Regions from separate parts of the Homo sapiens genome. Here region 2 is linked to region 1. Evidence: promoter capture Hi-C in human tissues and cell types (Jung and others, 2019). All regions are on one chromosome and are shown on one strand. Each heading gives the region's core, a stretch centred on a gene start or on the middle of the fragment in contact. The rest is flanking DNA. Distances are from core to core; before and after follow the strand shown. Region 1 holds the start of LRRC37B (leucine rich repeat containing 37B). Region 2 overlaps UTP6 (UTP6 small subunit processome component).

Evidence for each region. Contacts are between HindIII fragments. The study calls those that stand out against the background at their distance.
Region 2: a contact is called between a fragment that was not itself captured here and the fragment with the promoter of LRRC37B in region 1, in 3 of the 25 tissues and cell types used here (H1 embryonic stem cells, hippocampus and mesenchymal stem cells).

What each region holds. Positions count from the first base shown.
Region 1 is chr17:32,001,366-32,008,741 of GRCh38, reverse strand. LRRC37B (leucine rich repeat containing 37B) reads right to left here and starts at 1,359. Exons shown (of 15, transcript NM_001321350.2): 1 at 610-1,359. LOC124903972 reads left to right here and starts at 1,035. Exons shown (of 4, transcript XM_047437248.1): 1 at 1,035-1,366; 2 at 2,037-2,135; 3 at 5,417-5,634; 4 at 6,984-7,098. The coding sequence starts at 1,035. The coding sequence ends at 6,988. RefSeq lists silencers at 954-1,303, 1,344-1,393 and an enhancer at 1,436-2,358. The HindIII fragment of the contact is 11,687 bases long and covers 1-3,589 here.
Region 2 is chr17:31,884,647-31,892,022 of GRCh38, reverse strand. UTP6 (UTP6 small subunit processome component) reads left to right here. Exons shown (of 19, transcript NM_018428.3): 7 at 2,620-2,738; 8 at 4,710-4,787; 9 at 5,962-6,043. Among named protein-coding and RNA genes, the nearest start is that of UTP6, 13 kb to the left of the region's middle. RefSeq lists an enhancer at 1,901-2,080. The HindIII fragment of the contact is 3,760 bases long and covers 1,266-5,025 here.

The DNA of each region.
Region 1 (7,376 bases), core at 110-2,609:
TAAAAACAAACACACAGGACCAGGTAAAGTTCCCCTACTAACCAAAATGATCCGTTTCCTTAACACAATTTAAAAACCACAGCTAGGGGTGTGAACACAGGCATGTTTTTCTGTGTGTCTGTGTGCCACAATCTGTACAAATCCTTAATTCCCTTTTAAGGAACAGATATATAATGAAAATCCGAAAGGAAACACATTAGAAATGCAAAGAGGTTTGCAAAACAAGAGGCTTCTTTCATTCCAGAAAACCACACCAAAACAAGGGGAGAAAAATGAATGCAATGGATATGTGTTTGCCAAAGTTTCAATCCTGCCCGGTGGAGACACTGCACTGGCACAAATTTTGAGGAGAAAAAAAGGGAGTTGGGGGGACGGGGAGCAAGCGAGTGCGGCCTGCAACAATGCAATCTCCATTTTGAACAATGTGCTTCTTTCCTCTTATAAATCTAGTTTTTTGCCACTTGATGTGCCCTCCCATTTCCCCTCTAAAGTTTAGGGGTCGGCGGGGTTGGCGGGAGATCGGAGCGGGATGCACAGCACATAAGTGAGCAAGGGGGGAGGGGAGAGGAGGTGGGGAATGAGTCTGCAGCAACTGCGCTGGGTGGGTACCTGGAGTGCTGCTGAAGCTGCTTTCCGTGGAGTAACTGGCGTCCTCGTCGTCATCTTCCAGCTCCTCCGGATAATCGGAGTCATCGTCGTCCTCCTCCATGTCATCCTCCTAGTTGTCCTCAGACTCCTGGGTCTCCTCGGCATCGCCGCCCCCCTCCTCTTACTCCTCCTCCTCGCTCTCGTAGTCATCATACACCACTCTGTTGACAGCCCTCCGGGCTGCGGTGGTCCGGGCTAGGTGGCTGCCCCCGCGCCCCCGCCGGGCCCGTGCGCTGGTGCCGGCGCGGGGCGGGCCGGCGGCGGTGGCTTCCTCCGGCTACTGCTGCCCACCCTGGGCGAGCTCAGCCGCGTCTTGGGCGCCACCTCAGCCTGGCGGCTGCCCACCTGCCCCGGCTACTACCGCGTATCGGCGAGGGGAGCCCCCGATGGGTCCGGACGTGGGCGGCGGCGGCGGCGGGGCCGGGGCGCAGCGCTCCGCAGCGGGAGCCGCGGGCTGCTTGGTCGGCCTGCCCCGCCGGCCCCTCTTGTTGGAGCCCAGGCGGCGGGAGAAGGGAAAGCTGACGGGGAGGGCCGGGCGCAGTGGCGGCGGTGGGGAGCGCCGGGGCCGGGTTGGGAGGCCCGAGGGGCTGGGCGGGAGGGGCCCGGCCGGCGGAAGCGAGTGGAGGGAGAAGGCTCAACCGAATTGCTGGGGCCCCACTCAAGATCGCCTTCAACCGCCACCTTGTTTCTTCCCTCTACAGGAGCGCGGTCACGTGAGGTGCGCCGCCGCCCAGCCTGGGAAGGGGGCGAGGTGGCGCGGCGGCCGCTAGGGGGAGCGCGGGAGCATTGAGTCGGGGGCGGAGAGCTCGGGGCGCCTGGACTTGGCGCAGCACGGCGCTCCGGGTGCGGGTGGCGCGGCTGAAAGAGGCCCGCAGCTCCTGACAAGCCCCGCGTCTAAGGCCTTCGGAGACCACAGTCTCCGCGGACCCCTGGCTGGAGCCCAAAGCCTGCCGGGTCTCCTTCCCGCGACTCCCCTTCCGCGGCTCGGAGAGGAAGGCAGGAGAGCCCCCAAATATCGTTCCCCTCCCGCCCTCTAGGGAAACTGAGGCTGAAAGAGGCAGCGAGAGAAAGAAAAAAAAAGTCGCGGAGGGGGGCGGCCCGAGCGACCTAAGGGACGGGGCAGCGCCAGCGACCGAGGAAAATTAGTCGGGGTGGGGTACAGGGAGACAAGCCCCCAGAATTTAGGAAACTCCGAAGCTTGGAAGTGGAGTCCTGAATTGACTCCGATGACAACTGCTCCGGATCTGTGCCAGGAGCCACACCCCGGGCTGCCACGCCTGGAGGGAGGGGGGTCCCTAAGACCTGTTGCATGGGATCCCCACTCGGAAAGCCTCAGTAAACTCCAGAATGCAACTACTGCATGTTCCAATCTCCCGCCACCTTCCCAGTGTCCCAGCTAGGAGCCTGACCACCTTAGCAAGAACTTACCTCTCCTTTGCAGTGGAAAAGAGGGAATCCTGCCTAAAACCTACTTCACGGTGTTACAGGTCTGTATTATCGGGAAATAACCTTAATTTATTTACCTGACAAATCACTAGGTTTGAGCTCAGCCCAGGGGACGAATCATGGTGACAGTTCAGGCACCCTCAAACCTTATCACAGGGACTCAACCCTGAGTGGTTGAGGTCAGTTCTTCAGATAAGAGAAAGGTTTGCCGGGCACAGTGGCTGACGCCTGTAATCCCAGCACTTTGGGAGGCCGAGGCGGGCGGATCACAAGGTCAGGAGTTCGAGACCATCCTGGCTAGCACAGTGAAACCCCATCTCTACTAAAAATACAAAAAAAATTAGCCGGGCGTAGGTGGTGCACGCCTGTAGTCCCAGCTACTCGGGAGGCTGAGGCAGGAGAATGGCGTAAAATCCGGGAGGCGGAGGTTGCAGTGAACCGAGATCGCGCCACTGCACTCCAGCCTGGGAGACAGAGCGAGACTCCGTCTCAAAAAAAAAAAAAAAAAAAAAAAAAAAAAAAGAAAAAGAAAGGTTTCGTAAACATATGTTAATATTTATTGAGATAAGTGACAACCAAAAAGTAATTTAAACAAAAATACTTGGCCGGGCGCGATAGCTCATGCCTGCAATCCCAGCCCTTTGAGAAGCCAAAGCCGGACGATTGCTTGAGGTCAAGAGTTTGAGACTAGCCTGGGCAACATAGCAGGACCTCGTCTCTAGAAAAAAATTGAAAAATTAGCCGGGCATGGTGGTGCGCACCTGTGGTCCCAGCTACGCCAGAGGGTGAGGGGGCAGGATCGCTTGAGCCTGGGAGGTGGATGTTGCACTGAGCCATGATTGCACCTCTGCACTCCAGCCTGAGTGACAGAGCAAGACCCTGTCTCAAAATTTTTAAAAAAGAAAGAAAAATACCTAATAGGAGATGGCTTATTTCAATCTAGTTAGGAAAATGGAACACATATGTGAAATGAAAATTAAAATACAAGCACTAATTGCCAAATACATGCATTCAATACAGTTTGGTTGAGCTCTAAGGGTGGCAAATGTGTGTTATGTCTTCAGGGACTAGGTAAGTAATGTAAGTCAATAAAGTAGACAAGGTGAAGACCTAGGCCAATGGAAATGCTCATATTTTGTTTGAAGAGGGTGGCCAGGTGTGGTGGCTCAGACCTGTAATCCCAGCACTTTAGGAAGCCAGGTGGGTGGATCACTTGAGCCCAGAAGTTCGAGGTTAGCCTGGCCAACATAGTGAAACCCCATCTCTACTTAAAACACAAAAATTAGCCGGGCATGGTGGCATGTGCCCATAGTCCTAGCTACTCAGGAGGCTGAGGCAGGAGAATCGCTTGAACCTGGAAGGCGGAGGTTGTGGTGAGCGGAGACCATGCCACTGCACTCCAGCCTGGGCAACAGAGCGAGACTCCTTCACCACCCCCTCCCCCCCACCAAAAAAAAGAGAAAAGTTAAACAAAATAGACCAAAAAAACCCAACTCTTCTTTGAATGGATTAGCAGGTATTTGCTGTTTTGCTCCTTTATGCTTTAATGAATTTATCTTTCTGTGGCTTCAAGAAGAAAAATGTTAAGTCAGTGAATACTGTATAGGTTGAGCATCCTTACCTAAAATGCTTTGGATCAGAAGTGTTTTGGGCATTTTTGGAATATTTGCATTCTACTTACCAGTTGATCATTTCTAATCTGAAAATCTGAAATGCTCTAATGAGCATTTCCTTTGAACAGCATGTTGACACTCAAAAACTTTTGGACCTTGGAGCATTTTGGATTTCAGATTTTCAGAATAAGGGTACTCCACCAGTATCCTTTTATCTATGATTTAATATAGCCCTTCTTTCTTCAGAATTACTGAGTGACTCATTCCTGTAATGCTGCTGAATTTTTATTCATTTACTACCTTAACAATAATATTTAACATTTATTGATCACTAATGTGCCCAGGCACTATGGTAGATGCCTCATCATTATACTTTTAAGTCTTATAGTGGCACACAGGCAGGTTTTATTATATCCTCATTTTACAAGTGAGATAAATAAAATGTCTTAGAGACTCAGAGAGGTTGTGTTTTGTCCATGTCCACATATCTTCTAAGCACATTAGCCTATTTAAAGCCAGATCTCTCCAAAAGCCCAGTTTTTTCAGTTCCCTCAGTTTGCCATTGAGGAAACAGGAAAATCAGACTCACTGTCATCAATTGCCTCACACATACTCTTGAATTGCTTTTGAGTGGGAACAGAAATACCATTATGTGTGTTCCTCTACATCTAGTCCTAGACATTAATTTGCCTTGTTTCTTTTAAGTTAGTGACCATCTCTGTTGAAGTCTTTAAATCCATTAAAAGTGAATGGAACCTTAGGAGAGTTTTAGGCTGGAGAGGAAGCTCTTCTCTTCATTTTGGGCTTCGATTGTCCCGAAGAAAAGGGATGAGATATTATTTGAGATAACTCCTTCAAGAACCAGAACTTAGCAAAGCGTTTACACCAGTTTGATGGAAATATTTCTAAACTATATTATAAAATTAGCCAGGTATGGTGGCACATGTCTGTAGTCCTAGCTACTTGGGAGGCTGAGGCAGGAGAATTGCTTGAACCTAGGAGTCTGAGTACGCAGTGAGCCATGATGGTGCCACTGCACTCTAGCCTGGGTGACAAAGTGAGACCCTGTCTCTAAAATACATTTATTTTATTCTAAAATAATTCTAGGCTGGGTGCAGTGGCTCATGCCTATAATCCCAGCACTTTAGGAGGCCGAGGTGGGCAGATCACAAGGTCAGGAGATCAAGAACATGTTGGCCAAATCCATCTCTACTAAAAATACAAAAATTAGCTGGGCATGGTGGCACATGCCTGTAGTCCCAGCTACTCTGGAGGCTGAGGCAGGAGAATCGCTTGAACCCGGGAGGCCAGGGGTTGCAGTGAGCCGAGATCGCGCCACTGCACTCCAGCCTGAGTGACAAGAGCAAAACTCCATCTCAATAAATAATTAAAATAAAATAATTCTAAATACATTCGGCTCATCATATTGTTACATTGATGATCTTAAAGTTGATTGAGATGTAGCTGAAACTGGCTTCCACAAAGTACTCTCATATGGTTCTGAATTTTGAGGTCATCTTTCTCTGTATCAAGTTTTTTAGATGTCCTTTCTCAGAGTAAATCAAGTTTGAGTAAGACCTGCAGGGATCTCTTGTGAGCACATATATTGAGTTTTAGTGCATAAGCTTTAACTTTTCACTGGGTAGATGAAACTGTCAGAAAAGTGGCATTATGTCTAACATATAAAGTATTTCCCCATTTTTAAACAGAGAAGATACAGAAAATGAAAATGAAAATAAAATTTGGTACTACAGCACAAAGGTCCAGCTTGCAGAATTAATTGACTGTCTAGACAAAGATTATTGGGAAGCAGAACTCTGCAAAATTCTGGAAGAAATGCATGAAGAAATCCGACACATGGACATAACTGAAGACCTGACCGATAAGGCTCAGGGCAGTAACAAATCCTTTCTGGTGACAGCTAATGGTGAGAGGGTCATTTTCTCATTTTATTTTTGTTAAGTCTGAGCTAAACTGTTGGTATGAAATCACTGCAAAATTTGAAAATAGATTAAAAAAAATTTTTTTTTTTTTTTTGAGATGGAGTCTCGCTCTGTCGCCCAGGCTGGAGCGCAGTGGCACAATCTTGGCTCACTGCAACCTCCGCCTCCCAGGTTCACGCCATTCTCCTGCCTCAGCCTCCTGAGAAGCTGGGACTACAGGCGCCCACTGCCACCATGCCCGGCTAAATTTTTGTATTTTTAGTAGAGATGAGGTTTCACCGTGTTAGCCAGGATGGTCTCGATCTCCTGACCTCGTGATCCAACTGCCTTGGCCTCCCAAAGTGCTGGGATTACAGGCTTGAGCCACCGTGTCCGGCCAAAAATAGATTAAAATTTTCAAGTACAGTCATGCATTGCTTAATGATGGGGATACATTCTGAAAAATGTGTCATTTGGCGATGTCCCGATTGTGTGAACATCATAGAGTACACTTACACAAACCTAGATGGTAGGGTTTCCAACACACCTAGGTTATACGGCATAGCCTATTGCTGCTAGGCTGCAAACCTGCACATCATGTGACTGTACTGAATCCCGTGATCAGCTGTAGCACAACGGTAGGTATTTGTGTATCTAACCATATCTAAACATTTAAAAAGGTACTACATAAAATCTTATGGGATCACCGTCATGTATGTGGTTCCTTGTGGACTGAAACATTGTGCAGTGCATGACTGTGTGTATATTTTACTTTAGTTCTCCGTATTTCATTTTCCCAAGAGAACCTTGTTCATTCCCACATAAATTAGGGATGCTATATATTTTAGTGTTTTATTTCTGCCTTGGGTCATTACTAATATTCCCCAAAATGTTAGTTTAATTCAAGTATCTTATTAAACTTTTTTGGCATTCCAGCTTTTAAGAAATATTCTTTTTGAACTTTTTGCTTTTAAAAAATAAAACTTTAAAATTTTAGGATAGCTTTAGATTTATATAAAAGTTGCAAAGATAGTAGAGGGTTTCCGTATATCCTGTACTTGGTTATCCGTTATTAACGTCTTAGATTAGTGTGGGATATTTGTTACAACTAATGGGCCAGTGTTGACACACTGTTATTAACTCAAGTCCATACTTTACTCAGATTTCCTTAGTTTTTACCTGACGTCCTTTTTCTGCCTCATGATCCTATACCACATGATATTTAGTCATCATGTTTTCCTCTAGACTGTCGGTTTCTCAGACTTTCCTTGTTTTTGATGGCCTTGACAGTTTGGAGGAGTACTGGTTAGGTATGTTGTAGAAAGCCCTCCTTATGGGTTTTTCTTATGGTTAGCCTAGGTTTTTGCATTTTGGGGAGGAAGACCACAGAGGTGATGTGCAGTTCTCGTCTTATCAAGAGTGCATGCCGTCGTCGTGACTTATCACTGATGATGTTAACCTTGGTCCTCTGGGTGAGGCAGTGTTTGTCAGGTTTCCCTACATCCTCCCCCATCTCCTCAAACCTCCAATACTGTAAGTCACTGTAAACAGCCACACTTACTGGGTGGGGAGTTATGTTCTACCTTCTTGAAGGGGCAATATCTACATAAATTATTTGGAAGTTTTCTGCACAGATTTGTTTATTCATTTATTTTTTCAGACATTTATTTCTGAGTATAGATTTGTGGATATTTTATACTCATTGGGTTATAACTGGTTATTTATTAGGTTATAATTCAATGTCACC
Region 2 (7,376 bases), core at 1,896-4,395, 120 kb after region 1:
GAGACGGAGTCTCGCTCTGTCGCCCAGGCTGGAGGGCAGTGGTGTGATCTTGGCTCACTGCAACCTCCGCCTCCCAGGTTGAAGCAATTCTCCTGCCTTAGCCTCCTGAGTAGGTGGGATTACAGGTGCCCGCCACCACGCCCAGCTAATTTTTGTATTTTTAGTAGAGACTGGGTTTTACCACGTTGGTCAGGCTGGTCTCTCGAACCCCTGACCTCGTGATCCACCCGCCTTGGCCTTCCAAAGTGCTGGGATTACAGGCGTGAGCCACCACTCCCGGCCAGACTGTATTTCTTTTTAGATGATGGCAAAATAAACTTTTGAATCCTTTGTGGGACATTTTATTTGGAGGCAGTCAAATCTGAGGAATTTTAGAAGCTTAAAGGGGAAAATATCAATATAAATTTTAGAAGAGTGCTGGTACAGAGTAGACTCATGTTTTGTAAGAGAAATATTTCTCTTGTGAATAATGTATAAATGGTCTAGTTGATAGTGGAGGGGCCTCAGCACCTATTCTCAGGGTATTAGGCTTAATCAGATATCTTATACCACACAAGACTCAAATAGACTACATTTGGCACCAGTTTACTCAGAAATATAGCAGGATAGCCTTAGGTATGTTCCTTCTGCAGAATGCTCTTAGCAGAATGGAGGTAGCCTCTGGTTCCTAAGGTGACTGTTCAGGTATGAGGAGATGAGATCATATCAGTAGGTAGGGGATCCAGTCTGGTTTAGAAGCCCCATGGATGGGCATGGCTTCTACAGATCCTAGAAAGGTCATGCTCAATTTTAGGAGTCACATGTTCAAGGAAGCCCAAAGCAATTGCTTGCCACCATTGCTGACCCTTCTATTCCAGGTGTGGTTACCAATCAGGCGTCATTTTTAACAAAAGCAATCTTGATAAGATAGGTGACCTTTATTAAATGTCTAGGGAAATAGCTAGAATGTTAACTCAGGGTTAATTTCCCATGTAGAAGGACAAAGGGTTTTAGAGAAAATTATGAATTATAATTTATTTTATTTTTTATTTTTTTGAGACAGAGTCTTGCCTCTGTTGCCCAGGCTGGAGTGCAGTGGTGTGATATCAGCTCACTGCAACCTCTGTCTCCTGGGTTCAAGTGATTCTCATGCCTCAGCCTTCTAAGTAGCTGGGATTACAGATGTGCACCACCACGCCTGGCTAATTTTTGTATTTTTAGTAGAGATGGGGTTTCGCCATGTTGGCCAGACTGGTCTCAGAACTCCCAGCCTCAAACGATCTGTGCACCTCAGCCTCCCAAAGTGCTGGGATTACAGGAGTAAGCCACTGTGGCTTGCCCTATAATTTCTCTAAATATTGAGAAAAGAGCAAAAAATAATTTTATTTGTGGTAAGATAAGCAGTTTTTTCTGGACTTTTTTTTTTGACATGGAGTCTTGCTCTGTCGCCCAGGCTGGGGTGTAGTCGTGTGATCTCAGCTCACTGCAACCTCTGCCTCCCAGGTTAAAGTGATCCTTCTGCCTCAGTCTCCGTAATAGCTGAGACTATAGGAGGGTGCCACCACGCCTGGCTAATTTTTTGTATTTTTTAGTAGAAACGAGGATTCACCATGTTGGCCAGGCTGGTCTCAAACTCCTGACATCAAGTGATCTGCCTGCCTCGGCCTCCCAAAGTGCTGGAACTACAGGTGTGAGCCACTGTGCCTGGCCTTTTTCTGGCATTTTACTACCTTTAAAATTTGTATGTGGGCCAGGCACGGTGGCTTATGCCTATAATCCCAGCACTTTGGGAAGCCGAGGCAGGCAGATCATTTGAGATCAGGAGTTTGAGACCAGCCTGAGCAACATGGTGAAAACCCATCTCTACAAAGTTACAAAATTTAGGTGGGCGTGATGGTGTATGCATGTGGTCCCAGCTACTTGAGGGGCTAAGGTGGGATTCTGGTAGGTGAAGACTGCAGTGAGCTGTTGTTTGTGCCACTGCAGCCTGAGCAACAGAGCAAGACCCTGTCTCAAAAAAAGAAAAAAATTGTATGTGACTTACAATAATGTCCTTAGATCTGATGAAAACAGTAACAGACACTTAGGTACTCATCCTCTAAATTGAACATTTGTTATCATTTACTCATTTGCTTCAGAATACTGTTTCTAATTTTAGATAACGTAGCCAAGCTTTGCAGTTAGAAACTGTCTGTCCGAACTGCTTCCCCTTTTGTTAAAGGTTTTTTTAAAAAATTGTTTGAGTGGGCCGGGCGCAGTGGCTCATGCCTGTAATCCTAGCACTTTGGGAGGCCGAGGCGGGCGGATCACGAGGTCAGGAGATTGAGACCATCCTGGCTAACATGGTGAAACCCCGTCTCTACTAAAAATACAAAAAAAATTAGCCGGGCATGGTGGCGGGTGCCTGTAGTACCAGCTACTCGGGAGACTGAAGCAGGAGAATGGCATGAACCTGGGAGGCGGAGCTTGTAGTGAGCCGAGATTGCGTCACTGCACTCCAGCCTGGGCGACAGAGTGAGACTGTCTCAAAAAAAAAAAAAAAAAAAAATTGTGCGAGTATTAAAATTGGATCATTTGGTTCTTTTCTTGTCTGACTTGATTAATTTATTGAAATGAAATCTGATGGTTTTTCACTTACAGCTTTGTGGATTATGGCAGCCAAATGGGAAATGGAAGATCGATTGTCTTCAGAAAGCGCAAGGCAACTATTTCTTCGCGCACTGCGCTTTCATCCAGAGTGCCCAAAACTTTATAAAGAAGTGAGTGTGTATGCACATAGGATGAGACAGTGATGTTTCAGTTTGGTCCTCTGGAGACATATTTTTTTTTCCTGGATTCAAGCAATTCTTACGCCTCAGCCTCCCGAGTAGCTGGGATTACAGGTGCCCGCCACCATACCTGGCTATTTTTTTTGTATTTTTAGTAGAGGCGGGGTTTTGCCATGTTGGCCAGGCTGGTTTCACTTTTTTTTTTTGAGACAGTCTTGCTCTGTTGCCCAGGCTGGAGTGCAGTGGCACGGTCTCGGCTCACTGCAAGCTCTGCCTCCTGGGTTCACACCATTCTCCTGCCTCAGCCTTCCGAGTAGCTGGGACTACAGGTGCCTGCCACCATGCCTGGCTAAATTTTTGTATTTTTTATTAGGGATGGGGTTTTACCATGTTAGCCAGGATGATCTCGATTTCCTGACCTGGTCATCCGCCCGCCTCCACCTCCCAAAGTGCTGGGATTACAGGCGTGAGCCACTGCGCCCGGCCCATGTATTCTTTATTAAATAAAAAAGGCTTCAATTTATGGAGGCTAGGAATAAGTGTGGAGGTGTGGGTAAGGACAAACATCTTTTTTATTTTTTGAGATGGAGTCTCGTTCTGTTTCCCAGGCTGGAGTGTAGTGGCCCGGTCTTGGCTCATTGCAACCTTTACCTCCTGGGTTCAAGCAATTCTCCTGCCTCAGCCTCCTGAGTAGGTGGGATCCCACGTCCGGCTAATTTTTGTATTTTTAGTAGAGATGGAGTTTCGCCCTGTTGGGCAGGCTGGTCTCAAACTCCCGAACTCAGGTGATCTGCCTGCCTCAGCCTCTGAAAGTGGTGGGATTACAGGTGTGAACCACCATGCCCGGCCAGGGAAAAACATCTTTTTGTAGGTGTTGACACTGCAGCTTCTAAGTTAGTTGAGAGGTTGGAACCCCCGCCTCCTTCCTGTGGTTGGAAGGAATAGGGAACTAGACTCTAACATTTTTTTAGCTGGGAGCCAGATTTAGCCTCTTTATACTTTTGTTTTTATTTTTTTTTCTTGTTCCCTTGGTTCTCCAAAGAAGCCCTCTTCTGGCTTCTTTGCCTTGTCTTCCTCTTTTCTCCATGTTCTTTCTGTCTCCTTTTCTTGAGATAGATACCTGGTAGTACTTCCTTTCTCTCTTCGGGGACTTACTCCCTTATGGATGGTGCCTTAGAACATTTGAGGGCCAAGCTTTAGATAAAATCCCAAATAAGAGAAAGAATGTATTGGAAGCTGCACTGTTTTCTGAGTCATTTGTCAGGATAAAAGAGAAACTGCTATTTAATTCTTTTTTTTTTTTTTTTTTTTTTTGAGATGGAGTCTCACTCTTGTTGCTCAGGCAGGAGTGCAATGGTGTGTTCTTGGCTCACTGCAACCTCCACGCCCGGGGTTCAAACGATTCTCCTGCCTCAGCCCCCGAAGTAGCTGGGATTATAGGTGTGCACCACCATGCCCCGCTAACTTTTGTATTTTTAGTAGAGATGGGGTTTTACCATGTTGGGCAGGCTGGTCTCGAACTCCTGACCTCAAGTGATCCGCCCGCCTGGCCTCCCAAAGTGCTGGGATTACAGGCATGAGCCACCGTGCCCAGCCTGCTATTTAATTCTTAAATGAAAGTTAAGCCTGGGTGTGGTGGCTCATGCCTTTAATCCCAGCACTTTGGGAGGCTGAGGCAGGAGGATCACTTGAGGTCAGTTGTTTCAGGCCAGGCAGCAACGTAGCAAGATCCTGTCTCTACAAAAAATAAAAATAAAAAAATTATCTGAGTGTGATGGAATGCACCTCTAATCCTAGCTACTCAGGAAGCTGAGGCAAGGGGATCACTTGAGTGCAGGAATTCATGGCCGAAATGAGCTGTCATCACCAGTGCACTCCAGCTTGGGTGACAGAGCAAGACCCTGTCTCAAAAAAATTTTAAAAAGCATCTCCAAAGATTTTCAGTTTATTTCTCTTCTGTAGTACTTTAGGATGGAGCTGATGCATGCTGAAAAACTGAGGAAGGAGAAGGAAGAATTTGAAAAAGCCAGTATGGATGTGGTAAGGTTCTAATTATTTTATTCTCACTTGCTAACGATGTATAACATTTTGAGCCTGCTTAGGAGTAAGAGAAAATATTTGGAATATATTTTTCTTTTTTTTTCTTTTTTTTTGAGACGGAGTCTCGGTCTGTCACACAGGCTGGAGTGCAGTGGCACCATCTTGGCTCACTGCAACCTCTGCCTCCGGGTTCAAGCTTTAATGTTTAATGTTGTTACATTTTGAAACTTCCAGATGAGTTAGTGTTACTTATAAATGGACTTAGTTAGGAAAATGAAGCTTTATGCTATAAAAATAGATATTTGGACTAATTAATGTGGTTCTCAAAATTGTTACTTACAGAATAGCCAAATACTATTCTTTAACGCTGTATGATCTCATAAAGTGATATATTAATGGATTCAAGGAGCTTGAGAAAGGTTGTGAAATGTGTGGTTTCCTGGCCTTCTTTCTTTCCCTTTTTATATAATTTTTTATATGACAGAATAATTAAAAGATTTAGAATGTTAGAGCTGAGAAGAAACTTTGCTATTGTCTGTTATTGTGGTTTCCAGCTTAGAACTTTTTTCTCAGACGGAGTGTTGCTCCTTGTCGCCCAGGCTGGAGTGCACTGGCACGATCTTGGCTCACTGCAACCTCCGCCTCCCGGGTTCAAGTGATTCTCCTGCCACAGCCTCCGAAGTAGCTGGGATTACAGGTGCCCGCCACCACTCCCGGCTAATTTTTGTATTTCTAGTAGAGATGGGGTTTTGCCATGTTGGCCAGGCTGGTCATGAACTCCTGATCTCAAGTGATCCGCCTGCCTCGGCTTCCCAAAGTGCTAGGATTATAGGCATGAGTCACCACGCCAGGCCAGGACTTTTTTATTCAAATAAAATGTTACAGAGAAGCGCAAACAAGACATGTAAAATCTGACCTGTTTTGGTCCAAATGGAGAGTGAGGCCTTAAGCCATGTGATCTTGCCACCACTCTTGGAGCCTCAGAGAACACAGTTGGAAGGTCAGTGATCTTGTTCAAGCTGCACACTTTACAAGTGAGGGAACTGGCCCGGAGAGAGAGACATGATTTACCAGTGGTCATATGGCACAGGTAGTCTAGGATTGTTAATTTTCGTCCTAGTGCTTTTCCTCCTTGTACTACCTGTTAAGTTACGTTTGATATAACACTCTTTAGGAGAATCCTGATTATTCTGAAGAAATCCTTAAGGGCGAGTTGGCATGGATCATCTACAAAAATTCTGTAAGCATAATTAAAGGTAGGTATCTTTTGAACATTATTTTTGGTAGGAAAGTGAAACATTCTTTTCTTAATGAAGATCTTTAGCTAGTTTTGAAATTTTCCATTAGAATGTGTATAAAACTCTGTAGGAATAGTGTCCTGTTTCTTTCAGAAAATACTTATTTTTCCTAGGCTATAATTGAACATTTCAGTAACTTATTTATTTTTTGAGATGGAGTCTTGATCTGTTGCCCAGGCTGGAGTGCATTGGCGTGATCTCGGCTCACCACAACCTCTGCTTCCTGGGTTCAAGTGATTCTCCTGCCTCAGCCTCCCAAGTAGCTGGGACTATAGGTGTGTGCCACCCTGCCCAGCTAATTTTTGTATTTTTAGTAGAGACGTAGTTTCACTATGTTGGCTAGGCTGGTCTCGTACTCCTGACCTTGTGACCTGCCCGCCTTGGCCTCCCAAAGTGTTGGGATTACAGGCGTGAGCCACCATGCCTGGCATAAGTCTCTTTTTAAAATTTATATTCTACTCCCATTTTTTTCCCTTAAATTTTAATAGGTTTGGGCCGGGTATGGTGGCTCATGCCTGTAATCCCAGCACTTTGGGAGGCCAAGGCAGGTGGATCACCTGAGGTCAGGAGTTTGCGACCAGCCTGGCCCACATGGTGAAACCCCATTTCTACTAAAAATACAAAAATTAGCTGGGTGTGGTGGTGGGCGCCTGTAATCCCAGCTACTTGGGAGGCCGAGGCAGGAGAATTGCTTGAACCCGGGAGGTGGAGGTTGCAGTGAGCTGAGAGCGCCTGGGCAACAGAGCGAGACTTCATCTCAAAAAAATAAAAATGTCAATAGGTTTTTGGGGAACAGGTTTAGTGGTGATGTCTGAGATTTTGGTGCACCCATCAACGAGCAGTGTATACTGTACCCAGCGTGTACTCATTTATCCTTCCATGTTTTTTTTTTGAGACAGGGTCTTACTCTGTCACCCACGCAGGAGTGCAGTGGTACAATTATGGCTCACTGTAGCCTCGACTTCATGGGCTCAGGTGATTCTCCCATTTCAGCCTCCTGAGTAGCTGGGCATGGACCTCTATGCCTGGCTAGTTTTTGTACTTGTAGTAGAGATGAGGTTTCACCATGTTGTCCGGGCTAGTCTTGAACTCCTGAGCTCAAGTGATCCTCCTGCCTTGGCCTCCCAAAGTGATGGCATAACTGGTGTGAGCCATTGCACCAATCCTCAGTAAGTTCTCATGGAGTAATTAAATCGTGGGGAGTTGAAAATTAGTTCTTTTTTTATGAATACTCCAAAGATTAACAATAGCTTTGCTTGAGTAGGGGGACACTGGGGTGAGGGGACTATGG